2 separate regions of the Homo sapiens genome follow, and region 1 is linked to region 2. The links are contacts of gene promoters, found by promoter capture Hi-C in blood cells and fetal thymus (Javierre and others, 2016). All regions are on one chromosome and are shown on one strand. Each heading gives the region's core, a stretch centred on a gene start or on the middle of the fragment in contact. The rest is flanking DNA. Distances are from core to core; before and after follow the strand shown. Region 1 holds the start of RUFY3 (RUN and FYVE domain containing 3). Region 2 holds the start of MOB1B (MOB kinase activator 1B).

Evidence for each region. Contacts are between HindIII fragments. The CHiCAGO score rates a contact against its expected background, and 5 or more counts as called.
Region 1: the fragment with the promoter of RUFY3 here is called in contact with the fragment with the promoter of MOB1B in region 2 in 1 of 17 cell types (fetal thymus); the score reaches 5.7 in fetal thymus.

The regions. Positions count from the first base shown.
Region 1 is chr4:70,720,560-70,727,463 of GRCh38, forward strand. It overlaps RUFY3 (RUN and FYVE domain containing 3), which reads left to right and starts at 1,405. Exons shown (of 18, transcript NM_001037442.4): 1 at 1,405-2,192. The coding sequence starts at 2,015. The HindIII fragment of the contact is 24,519 bases long and covers 1-1,894 here.
Region 2 is chr4:70,900,745-70,907,124 of GRCh38, forward strand. It overlaps MOB1B (MOB kinase activator 1B), which reads left to right and starts at 1,625. Exons shown (of 6, transcript NM_173468.4): 1 at 1,625-1,806. The coding sequence starts at 1,793. LOC124900711 (a long non-coding RNA gene) reads right to left here and starts at 1,487. Exons shown (of 2, transcript XR_007058132.1): 1 at 1,205-1,487. RefSeq lists silencers at 1,445-1,594, 1,905-1,954. The HindIII fragment of the contact is 2,463 bases long and covers 1,126-3,588 here.

The sequences.
Region 1 (6,904 bases), core at 155-2,654, 180 kb before region 2:
GTTCAGTCTCAAATTATGATGAAGCATTTGAGATTTTAACAATATTCAAGGAGAATTTTTTTAGTTTTCAGAAATTAGGTAAATCAAGATGTCCCTCTGATAACAATCCCTAGAAAGGAATAGTCTCAGGTCATATTTCTTGAATTTGTATGTTCCTCCTTAAAATTGGAACCCTTCAATACAAAAACAAACAAACACTTTCTTTCAATTGTCCAAAACATTTTCAAAGAAAATTCTTATTCTTCTCTTTGTAATTTATGTAGTTCATAAAGCAAGTACCTGCCCTTTTGCTACCAAGGTATAAATGCCTCATTGGATAATATAGGGCCGTGTGTGTGTGTGTGTGTGTGTGTGTGTGTGTGTGTGTGTGTGTGTATTAAGAAAATATAATTGTCTTCAGTATCTTATCGAATGGGAGGATTTTAAAAATATAACATGGTTTAATCTGCTTAGAAACATATTTCATGCTTAAGGCTGGGCATGGTGGCTCACGCCTGTAATCCCAGCACTTTGGGAGGCTGAGGTGGGAGGATCATGAGGTCAGAAGTTCAAGACCAGCCTGGCCAAGATGGTGAAACCCCGTCTCTACTAAAAATACAAAAATTAGCTGGGCGTGGTGGTGGGTGCCTGTAATCCCAGCTACTCGGGAGGCTGAGGCAGAGAATTGCTTGGACCTGGGAGCTGAGATCACGCCACTGCACTCCAGCCTGGGCTACAGAGCAAGACTCTGTCTCAAAAAAGAAAAAAGAAAAAAAAAGAAACGTATTTTATGCTTAATACAGAAACTTGATAAATACAACAAAATCAAAAAGGGGGGAAATTGCCATTAATTGGGAAAGATTTTACTTTTTTAACTTGAAGTTTTTTTTTTGCATTTCTGCCTAACCTAAAAGGTCAGGTTTTTGTACCTTGGAGAAGGAAATTATAAATGCCCAAGAATAAGATATTTAAATTGAAAATCTACTTTAGCTTTTCTTTTTATCTTTTTGTTTTTTTTCCCTCTGAGAACCTCAATTTTTTATGCTTTAGCTTTTCTTAAAACATAACATTTAGCATAGTAAAGAATTTTAATAGCTATGTAGATAAGAATGAAAGAGGTGAATTATATGCTTGTTAAATTAATCTAACTGCCTCTTTTACCATCTTTACTATAGATTATTATCCGGTATTAATTGTCATCCTTTTATTCAGTCCTTGATCCCAAAGTAAGAAGAATTGATGAGGATATGTGCATTGTGTTATGTCTGATCACAGTTTGACTAGCACAGTCTGGAAGTGGGTTGTACAGGATGAGAGAGAGAAGCCTAATTGCTCTCCCAGCATCAGCAGCATCTATAAAGCATCCTGGGAATTGCTTGCCCTACGTTCAGAGCAGCTGGTCACATGAGCCTGAATTTTCAGTTCAGTTCATTAGTCAGCCATTTTGGTCAACACCCTGCTTACTGCGCACGGCCAATCCTATGAGAACTCAGCATCCCAGCTCATCTGAGCAGATCCTGGAAGTGATTTCTGCAGCTCAGGATTTTTTTTTTAAGCTACATTGAAAATATAGGTTTATTTTTTGTTCAGGTTTTTCTTTTATATTTTTTTTCTGCACAAAGGAGGAGGATTTTTCACTTACTCATATCGAGGCCAGATTTTTAAAGCCAGCTAAGGCAGCATCAGCTGTGCGGGATTTAAAGCCTATAGCTCAGCTGAAAAAAAAGGTGGGGGGCAGGGAAGGGAAGATAAAAGGAGAGGAAGCTGGGAGAAGACAAGCATCATCTTATTTTGCTATGTGGTAGGAACTGTCTATAAGATAGTGTAGAATTGTTTATCTTGAGCAGTTTGTTCTTAACCTATAAGGTATTTTTCCTTTTTTTTTTTTTTAAACCTCCCCCACCCTTTTCCTGAAAGCTTTGTTTCAGAGCTTTGTATTGGGTTTTTTTGGTGAGGAGGTTGTATTTATTTTTTTGGTGTGTGTGTGTGAGTGTGTGTGTGTCTGTGTGTGTGTTGTGGTCCCAGCTGAGTCATCATGTCTGCTCTGACGCCTCCGACCGATATGCCAACCCCCACCACTGACAAGATCACACAGGCTGCCATGGAGACCATCTACCTTTGCAAATTCCGAGTGTCCATGGATGGAGAATGGCTCTGCCTGCGAGAGCTGGATGACATCTCACTTACACCTGACCCAGAGCCTACCCATGAAGGTATGGTCAGATCCTGTCCGCTAGTATTTCACCAGCATCCTCATTGTTATGGGGGAGGGCTGGGAGGATCAGGGAGAGGTAGAAAGAACCTACACTCTCAACTGTTAACAGTCCTGAAAACCTTGCATCCTTACTTACCACCCAGCTCCCCTTCTCTTGCTCATGGGGGAAAGATAATTTTTTTTCTTGCCCCTTTAGGTATCCTTTCAAAAGATGCTGGATACTCGTTTAGAGTTCTTTGTCTTTAAGCCTCTAAATAAAACATTTGAGGTCACTTATCACATCTGATTCTATTCAATAATGAGAAAGCTATTAATTTTGTTCATATATGAAAATGTTATAGAAATTGTAGTGATTTATAACACTAAGTTAAGACAACATGACTATAATTATAGGATTGTACATGATGAATACAGTAGAAACACCAGGGTATTTGGTAATGGTATCCTCACCATTATATGAGGATACAATTTTAAGCAAGTTATGACATCTAGGAAATGTTTGATAAAACATTTTTTTAACAATATGGATTATTAGGTTAGATGAGAAAATAACTTTTCAGCATTTATTTATTGAATATGGACTCCTAAGAAAGCATAATGCCTGGAAAGGTTAAATATGATTAATATGGCATCCCTATAGATTACAATAGAATGGTAATATTGGAATCTATTGGCCATTGCTTTTTATAAATTATTTGTGGTAACTATTATGATCCATTTGAGATTTCCACTGTCAGTACCTCTGAGATCTTTGTGGTCTCTTGACTTGCGACTTTTTTCCAGGACTCTTGCTAATTTATGAGAGGTTTTCTGCTTCTACCCTTTAATTCTCTTAATACCACAGAAAGAGAGCTGATTTGAATCATAGCTACAAATCGTTTTGTTTTTAATACAGTTGCTTCTTAGCTAAGGTTTATTCTCTGTCCTTATACTGATGAAAAAAAACAAAAAACGCTTGCATATGAGGAGAAATTCTTTATAAACATCTGCCTGATAGTTAGGCACATCGACAGGACAAAGAAGACCATAGGTGAATTGTACCTAGCAGATGGGGTTAGGAAAGGTGATTCTCTGCCTTTGACCTTGAGTTGAAATCTTATCATGACTCAGAATTTTCCCATTGTGTTTGATAAGCATTTTATCTTCCCAGTCAGCCTTAGCCTTGAGAAAGTTTTAGGGATGGTTAATAACACAGAACACAAAGCAGTCATTTTGGGTGTGTCTTTAAGAACAATGTTTAAGTGGTTTTTAAGACCCTTTGCATCTTTTAACAATTGGTTTGTTAATTAGACAGCTTTCTTTGGCTGTATGTTTCGTTATGTGCACAAGTTATAAGACATCAGCTGAAATTCCATGCAATGCCAGTACTATTTATTTTTTATTATTATTTTATTCTATATTTTCATCAAAACATCGTTACATCCAACAATTCCAGTACTACTTAAAACAGCCTCCAAAGCTTTAAAAGTCTTTAGGGAAGAAAAATACAGTTTTAGAAGGCTACCAAGAAGTCTTCTGGCAACTGCCTCAGTTTACATATTTTGTTTGAAAAAAATGTATTCCCGTCCAATTTGAGAGTTATACAATATGAAATATTCCCTTTATCATGAAATCTAGTTTACCAGTGTCTCAAAAATAATTTTTAACAATTTTAACACCTCAAATATATGTTTTTGGAGCAGGATTCCTATGGATAAGCAAAAGTGAGCTGTTTGGTTCATGTAAGCGTTTTTAGCAGCGCCATTTGAATTCTTCATAGAGAAATCTGTAGCAACACATTTCTCAGTATGGAAAATGTGTGAGAGCTATAATCTAAGTAATAAATTGTATGTCTGCTGATTAAAGAAATCAGATAAATACAGAGTTTCCAAGACCTGTAATCAACTATAGAGGATTTGGAAGAAAATAGAGAAATGCCGACAGTGCATTTTAGAATTTTGCCTTAAATTGGGCAAGAAAGCTATTATTTTAAATTACTAGAAATGAAAATAAAGAAAGCATAGTCCCATGAAAGCCTGTGAGTATTACTGCCTTGCTCCATTACCAAACTCTGGATATTTAAACAGTCATTTGGTCCCAAGAAATACCCACTTTTATGTTAATACCACTGATAGTTATTAGATTTAATTTAGCTATAAGCATTTAAGTGGTGGTCACCAGGCCCATGATTATGTGAATCTCACCTTGTTCACAAAATGGAACTCCTGATGTCTGGACGCGGGAGTATTCAGACTGCTTTCCGGGCTGATTCACAGAGGGAAAAACATCTGACCACCCAAATCCTAGAGTGAAGTCTCCTCACTCCCACAAAAGAAAATAGGCAAACAGCATAATGTTCCCTCTTAAAATGATGTAGACTGACTGTGTGTACTCAGCAATAGAGGCTCTGTGGCTTCCATATTTTATTTTCTTAAAACCAGAGTTCCTGGCCCTTCACTGAGCAGTCCGCAGTATAGGCCTGGACCTAGAGTTTCTGCCTACTTTAACCCTTAAATAAATGAAAATAAAAGCATTCACTTCATTATCTCAATGCTTATTGGTGGTCAATGAGGGATTATCTCTCTTTTGTCTTATATACTCTTTTTTTTTTTTTTGAGACAGAGTTTTGTTCTTATTGCCCAGGCTGGAGTGCAATGGCGCAATCTTGGCTCACTGAAAACTCTGCCTACCGGGTTCAAGCGATTCTCCTGCCTCAGCCTCCCAAATAGCTGGGATTACAGGCATGCGCCACCACACCCAGCTAATTTTTGTATTTTTAGTAGAGACGGGGTTTTTGCATGTTGATCAGGCTGGTCTCGAACTCCCAACCTCAGGTGATACACCCTCCTTGACCTCCCAAAGTGCTGGGATTACAGGTGTGAGCCACCATGCCCGGCTTATATACTCTTATTTTCAAAAGCCAACAGCAAATCTACAACAAGTTTAATTGCAAATAGATTTCCCCTAAAGGCAAGAGCCTGTGATTGACTCCACAGGAGAAGGGTCAGGAGAGGCTTCATTAAGTGAGACCTTAAGAGATAAACAGGTGATCACCAGACCGACATAGGGAGGGCATTTCAAACAGTACACAGTGAGCTGGCCCAGCCAGGGAATAGCAACAGGAGCACAGAGGGCTTCTGTTTGGCACAACAGGGAGCAAGACTGGAAAGATAAGCAGGGGCTTGACTGTAGAAATCTTATTCATACTGAAAAGCCTGCACTTGATTCTGTAGTGAAAAGCTACTGGTGCTTTATGTCTGGGAGTAACATAAAATAAGATTTGTGTTTGGAATGATCACTCTGGCAACAGTGTAGTGAATGGATCAGAAGGATATAAGCTCTCAGGGACCCCTAACTATAACTTTTAAAATGGTCTGGGTAAGAGATGACAATCTCACATTAAGGTAGCAAGAGTGAACACCAAAGGAACAATCCCTGGAAAAGCAGAATGTACCCGATGACTGAGGGGCTGGGTGGCTGGAGAATGAACATAAGGCAGTGCCTGGGATGACTCTCCAACTTCTGGCTGCAGAAGCTAGGTTCCCTTTACCAGTAGGGAATATAGAAGGAAGAGAACATTTGAGTTGTTGATGCTTAATAGATTGTGACTAACAAAAGCACTACCATCACTCTTTTTTTTCTTTTTTTTGAGACAGTTTCGCTCTTATTGCCCAGGCTGGAGTGCAATGGCGCTATCTCAGTTCACTGCAACCTCCACCTCCCAGGTTCAAGCAATTCTCCTTAACTCAGACTCTCCAGACTCCCCAAGTAGCTGGGATTACAGGCATGCGCCACCACGCCCAGCTAATTTTGTATTTTTAGCAGAGACAGGGTTTCTCCATGTTGGTCAGGCTGGTCTCGAACTCCCGACCTCAGGTGATCGCCCGCCTCAGCTTCCCAGAGTGCTGGGATTACAGGCGTGAGCCACCGTGCCCCGCCCATTACTCTTTCAGTTGAGCCTTCTACCCGCCCCACAGAAGCATTAATCAGATTTATACTTTTCCAGATTACATATCCTGGCTTAAGTCTGTACCCTAATTTACATTAAGAGTTGGAATCCTCACATGGAAAGGCGGGGGTGAAGATAAAAGGAGTGAGACTTAAATGGACATTCAGAGATGTGAGAATGTGGCTTACTTTCTTACTTTGCTTGTGCCATGTCAGTGCTAGAGGAGCAGCCTTGTTTATAGAAAATTCATTTTGCATTTTCTTAATTTAGGGAAACATGTACCACCATTGAAATAACCTCTCAGACTTTTGTTTGTTTGTTTGTTTTACTTTGTGAAAGCGTAGTGGGATTTCTTTCCTTTTTTTTTTTTTTTTTTTTAACCGAAGCAATGTTGGAAGTAAGTGGAATTTCAAAGTAAAGGAACTTTTAAAGCACCATGAAAATTTTAGAGAACATGTGTTCTCTGTTTTTTTCAAGAATGGAAGCAGAACGCTTCAGTTAGACCTTTAAGCATCATTATATTAATTTCAGAAATGGTGTTATTACTGAGATGAAGTGGTATATTTTATTTTTGCGATTTTTTTTAAGTCACATGCTCATATGTATCTGAATTTCTTGGAGTAACATTCTCAAAACAAGTTACATATAATTCTAGGATCAGGAAAGTAATAACTTTTTTTTTTTTTTTTTTTGAGACAGAGTCTCACTCTGTTGCCCAGGCTGGAGTGCAGTGGCGAGTTCCCAGCTCGCTGAAACCTCTGCCTCCCAGGTTCAAGCGACTC
Region 2 (6,380 bases), core at 375-2,874:
ACTCCGTCTCAAAAAAAAAAAAAAAAAAAAGAATTATACAGTAAGTCAGTACCATATCAATATTTGGAGCACAGGGTTTTATACCATAAATCTATTATTTTCATTCAGATAAATCCTCCTCTTTCTTCTTTTTGGGGAATCTTTTAAAAAATTTTTAATTTAATTTGAAGTTCCAGGATACATGTGCAGGACGTGCAGGTTTGTTACATAGGTAAACGTGTGTGCCATGGTGGTGTGCTGAACCTATCAACTTATCACCTAGGTATTAAGCTCTGCATGCATTAGCTATTTATCCTGATCTGGTAATCTTTTGAGTCTGTAAGTTTTCTCATTCCAGTAACCTCTGCTGTTCCTGAGATAGTGCAAGATTCTAGTATTTTCTTCTATTAAAAAATTTTTTTTTTGAGACGGAGTCTAACTCTGTCACCCAGGCTGGAGTGTAGTGGCATGATCTTGGCTCACTGCAACCTCTGCTTCCTGGGTTGGAGCAATTCTCCTGCCTCAGCCTCCCGAGTAGCTGGGATTACAAGTGTGTGCCACCATGCCCGGCTAATTTTTGTATTTTTAGTAGAGACGGGGTTTGGCCATGGTCTTGAACTTTGGCTGGTCTTGAACTCCTGACCTCAGGTGATCCACCCACCTCGGCCTCCCAGAGTGCTGGGATTACAGGCATGAGCCACTGCGCCCGGCCTAAAACGTTTTTTTTTTTTTTTTTTTTTTTTTTTTTTTTTTTTTTTACCACTTTACCAACGTGCCAAATAATAGTGCATATATGCAGTATAATACATTTCATATCTGCACCTACTTCAAAGTGTATTCTGCCCTTTGGGATAAGCCAAAGGTGAGCTAATATCTGCACATGATTTGTTTTGCTCAGATTCTCTTTGAAAACTTGTAGATTTGATGGGTGTTGTGAGTAAAGAAGACGGACATCTCTTCGATACCCGTATTTCCCTCCTAAATTGGTAATGCTGTGGTGACATATTCAAGGTATGTGAAGGATTCTTAAACAGAATATAAAGGCTTGCCCTGGGCCCCATAACCCTGTGAGAATAAAAGTCCCTTTGTAAGTGGGTCTGAATAGCTTCTAGCTTCTAGGATGTTCTGTGCATTAGAATGCTTACAAGCTTTGGCCCCCTAAGTGGTTACACCGATGACCACCCTATCATGCTGGGTTCCGTGGTGAACTGAGAGATGCCATTACCTTTCACCGCCCTTGGCCGGACACTCACGGTGGGCCTAACTCCGGTGGTAATTCCATCCCTCACTGCGGGACCTTGACATCCCCGAGCTGAAGCCCACTTCCTCCCTGACCTCTGGAGCCCAGCTGAGCGGCTCCGAGAGCTCTGCCATGACTCCTAACCGGGTGGACAGGGGGGCCGGGCAGCCGCGGCGCACACGCTGGGCGTCGTCCCTAGCAGCAGAGGAGACCAGAAGGTGAGAGTCCCCATGCCGCAGCCGGAGGGCCGGGGTGGGCTTGCACCGCTATCGCGAGAGCTCGTGAGGTGGGGGCGGCGGGGAGCTGGGGAGGGGCTCGCGGAGAGCCTGCCCCGCCTCCCTTTCCTTCCCCTCCCCTGGAGTGATTCAAGACGAGCGCTACCCACTTCCGCCCCCTCCCCCTGCCATTGGAACTAGCTGAGCCGAACTAGTTGCGGCCACCGAGCAGCCGGCTCTCGGCACCTCCTCCTCCGCCTCCCTGTCTCCTGTTCCATTCGCCTTTCCTCTTCTTTCCTGGCCCACGCCGCTCCGAGGCCTCGCGACCGCCGAGCCTGCAGCCTGCCCCGCGGCCAACATGAGCTTCTTGTTGTGAGTAGCCAGGCCCCGCACGCGCCGGCTTTGTTCGGGTGGACCTGGGCCCCCGCCCGCCGCCCGCCGCCCGTCGCCCGCCCTCGTCCCGACCCTCCTGGCCCAGCGCTCCCGGGGCCCGGCGTCACCACCAAGCGGGGCCCCGGGACTGCGCGGAGCGCTCGGACTACCTAACCGCCGCCTCCCCATAGGGCTTCGAGTACTCGTGGGCTCCTGCAGCCCTGAGGAGGTTCTTCCCCCCCGGCACACCCCGGGGCCAGCGCCTGGATTCCTTCATCACCCCCGTCTCTGCCTTCGCTCGCATTCCCGGGCTTGTTTGTGCGCTTCTCGTGGGTATCTCCCACTCGCCTGCACAATCCGTATCCAAGCGGTGCTCGGTTGAATGGCTCCGTCGCGGCTGCCCATTGCTCTTTTCTGGGTCCCAAGCACAGAAGATAAGACTGTCGTACTTTCCCCTGTCATCCCAGGACCCTTTTAACTTCCTCTCTCGTCTTAGGGCTGGGAAGTTGGGATGACAAGTTCTGTAGATGTAACACTGAAACAAGGCTACTTGCGGGTCGGGATCCCTTGGACACAGACGGGGGTCCCTGAGAAAGGGGTCTGGAGCCGCCCCCTTGCTTCCTAGAGGCGCCCTTCCTCCCAGAGGACTTCCCTGAAGAGGATGAGTTTTATCTTTTTAGACAACCAGCAAATAGGTTTTGGATAGTGTGCCCTGCCTAGGTTGATTAGGTCCACTGGGGAGTTGTTTTGAAAATCATTTGTAAATGCCAACTTTGGCGTCATGTTTAGTGCTGGTCATTATTTCACTTACTTATCGTTTGTTCCAGACGAGTGGAGGGGAACGTGGAGGGGGAAGGGCAGAAGGATGGGATGGCCAGATGTGGATATGGAGGCAGTAGATAAGCCTCAGGTCCTCTGAAAACAGGGGTTACAGCCTGAGGAATAACTCCTTTGAAGGCTTCGTTGTGATGCACTCATTCCATGTTTAGTCTGTGTTTAGAAAACTAATAAAAAACTTAGAAGTTGAAACTCACCCATATACTGTTTTACTGTTGTGGAGAAATTAGCATTTAAAGGATATTTTCTTAAGATTTCTCTTCTTTCCTTGCCTAATAATTTTTAGTCATTACATTGACGTCTGAATACTGAGAATTTAATTCACTCTTATTTTCACATGCTCACATCTAGAATTTTTTTTTTTAGGGTGTTTAAGCAAAACTGAACAAGGCTGACCTAGGGGCAGACTTGATATTTCCAATATGCATAGGGGACCTGGCTTGTGTCAACTTGCCTAAAACCTTTAAACGGAAAGGGATTTCTTAGGCTCCTCCTAGAAGTTGATTCTGAGTTTGTCGGATTGGCATAGGGCTAGATGACAGGACTGGGTGATTTTATAAAAAAGTCCTTGTTTCTTATTTTAGTTCTTTTTTTTTTTTTTTTTTTTTTTTGAGACGGAGTCTCCGCTCTGTCACCAGGCTGGAGTGTGTAGTGGCGTGATCTCGGCTCACTGCAACCTCTGCCTCCCGGGTTCAAGCGATTCTCCTGCCTCAGCCTCCTGAGTAGCTGGGACTACAGGCCCGCGCCACCACGCCTGGCTAATTTTTGTATTTTTAATAGAGATGGGGGTTTCACCATGTTGGCCAGGCTGGTCTCGAACTCCTGATTTCAAGTGATCTGCCTGCCTTGATCTCCCAAAGTGCTGGGATTACAGACGTGAGCCCACCGTGCCTGGGCAGTTTCTTGTTTTAGTTCTAATCACCATATTCAGGTATCTCAACTTGAAGCTTCTCATCTTGAGCTTAATTTTACATTGCTAATGTTTGATTGTTTTCAAGAATTTAGAAGCTGTATTCAAAATAGCACTGTAGATGATATCCATGACTACTGCTGATGGGCTTGTGTCTAGTAAGCTAAATTGGTTAAAGCAAGGCCAGTCGCGGTGGCTCATGCCTGTAATCCCAGCACTTTGGGAGGCCAAGACAGGCAGATCACCAGGTCAGGAGTTCGAGATCAGCCTGGCCAATATGGTGAAACCCCGTCTCTACTAAAAATACAAAAATTAGCTGGGCAAGGTGGCACGCACCTGTAGTCCCAGCTACTTGGGAGGCTGAGACGGGAGTATCACTTGAACCCGGGAGGTAGAGGTTGAAGTGAGACGAGATCGCGCCACTGCACTCCAGCCTGGGTGGCAGAGTGAGACTCTGTCTCAAAAAAAAAAAAAAAAAAGGTTAAAGCAGGGAAGAGCCATATTTGGCTGAAACTAGGGGATGGAGAAGTTTCTGATGCTATTTTTTGAATACAAATACAGTAGAATCCTATTTTTACATGGCTCAGTATTTAATAGATTCAGATTTGTGGTGGATTAGTTTGTTTCTCCTGAAGGTTAGTAACTACAAAAGAAATCTTGCTGTAACTAATGTATATAGAACTTTAGAGCATTTGCACTATTTGGGGCACAATTTTTCAGTTAGGTTATATCTATCTAGCAGTTGATATATTCTCAACATATTTAGCCCATGTGCTTGACAATCAGAAAAGTTAATTCAACATTTTCAGTTTTGGTCTTTGTCTACCGTCAATTAAAAATCCAAAGTGAACACCACATGGAAATGATTATTATTGGAAGTGAAAGAACAAAGCTTTGGTTATTTCTTCTATTTGTTATTTGGTATAACTGTCTGAATACTGTTTCTTTTTTTTTTTTTGGAGACAGGATCTCACTCTGTCGACCAGGATGGAGTGCAGTGGCATGACCACAGCTAACTGTAGCTTTGACTTCCCAGGCTCAGGTGATCCTTTCATCTCAAACCCCCTCCCCGCTACAAGTAGCTGGTACTACAGGTATGCTCCACTATGCCTAGCTAATTTTTTTTTTTTCGGTAGAGTCAGGGTTTTGCCATGTTGCCCAGGCTGGTCTCCTGGGCTCAAACAATCCACTCATCTTTGCCTTCCAAGATGCTGAGGTTACAGGTGTGAGCCATTACACCTGGCTATCTGAATACTATTTCTGTACCAACAGATGAGCAGAGAAGGAAAGCGTTACAGCTTAGGAGTTAAATACAAATATTTTCCTCCCGTTCTTGGAAGCTTACTGGGAAGCCTACGATCAGTGGATGGAGCAGAGGAAATAAGGGCAATGCAAGATGGGGCTGCAAAGGTGGTGACTCATGACTCTTGAGGGCTCTAAGATAGAAGGAAAGAACTACTACTGATTTTTAAAAGATGCACTGTGGGCCGGGCACAGTGGCTCCTGCTTGTAATTCCAACACTTTGGGAGGCTGAGGTGAGTGGATCACTTGACCCCAGAGTTCCACACCAACCTGGACAACATGGCGAAACTCTCTTTCTACCCCTAAAAATACAAAAATTAGCCAGGTGTGGTGGTGTGAGCCTGTAGTCCCAGCTACTCTGGGGGCTGAGGTGGAAGGGTCATCTGAGCCTGAGGAAATTAAATACTTCAAGGCTGTGGTGAGATGTAATCATGCCACTGCACTCTAGCCTGGCTGATAGAGAGTGAGACTCTGTCTTAAAAAAAAAAGGCCGGTCGCGGGGCATAATGGCTCAGGCCTGTAATCCCAGCACTTTGGGAGGCCGAGGTGGGTGGATCACTTGAAGTCAGGAGTTTGAGACCAGCCTGATCAAGAAATGAAACCCCATGTCTACTAAAAATAAAAAAAATTAGCCGGGCGTGGTGGCGGATGCCTATAATCCCAGTTACATGGGAGACTGAGTAGGAGAATCACTTGAATCCGGGAGACAGAGGTTGCAGTGGGCCAAGATTGTGCCACTGCACTCCAGCCTGGACGACAGAGTGAGACCGTCTCAAAAAAAGAAAAAAAATCACTGTGCCTGGCACTGATGTGGATGTTGGGCACCATTTGTGACAAGAGAGAAAAAAATCCCTGCATTGGTGGGGCTTATGTTCTGGTAAGTGTCCGTAAATACTGAACATCAATAAATCATGTAGTATGGCGGAAGGTTGTAAGTGCCATGGAACAAAGGAGAGCAGGGTATAGAGATTTTTGGATAGGGAGTTGAGACAGATTAGGATAATCCCCAGAGTGGGTTCCCAGATCATCTGCAGGAATGATACCTTTGTGTAGCTTTTGTATAAATGCTCAGGATAAATTTGCACTGCATATGTGGGTTTGGCTGGGACAGAGCTTTGGTTGTGCCGCAGTTTGGCCTCTGTGTATCTTCAGATTAAGCTAAACTCTCATGGTAGATACGGAAACTTCACAGGGACCTCATTTAATTTTGTGGACTCAAATCTTTTAAACACATCCTTAGCACCTGCTGTGTGCCAGGCGTAGAGGAAGATAAGAGATTCCAGAGATGGTGGATGGTATATCGTCATCTATGATAGATGCAATACAATCATGGGGGCCCAAAGTATGTGTAGCAATTTGTTCTACTTAGGCTTTAGGAAAGTTTCATGAAAGAAGTGGGTGATAATTAATGGAAGGTGAACAAGAGCTCTCTAAGAAGACAAGGGGAAATGGGAGAGTACAGTCAGAGGAAACATCTTTGAGTCAAGAAATTGCCTGTGAATTGTTCACTTCCACGTTTGTGCA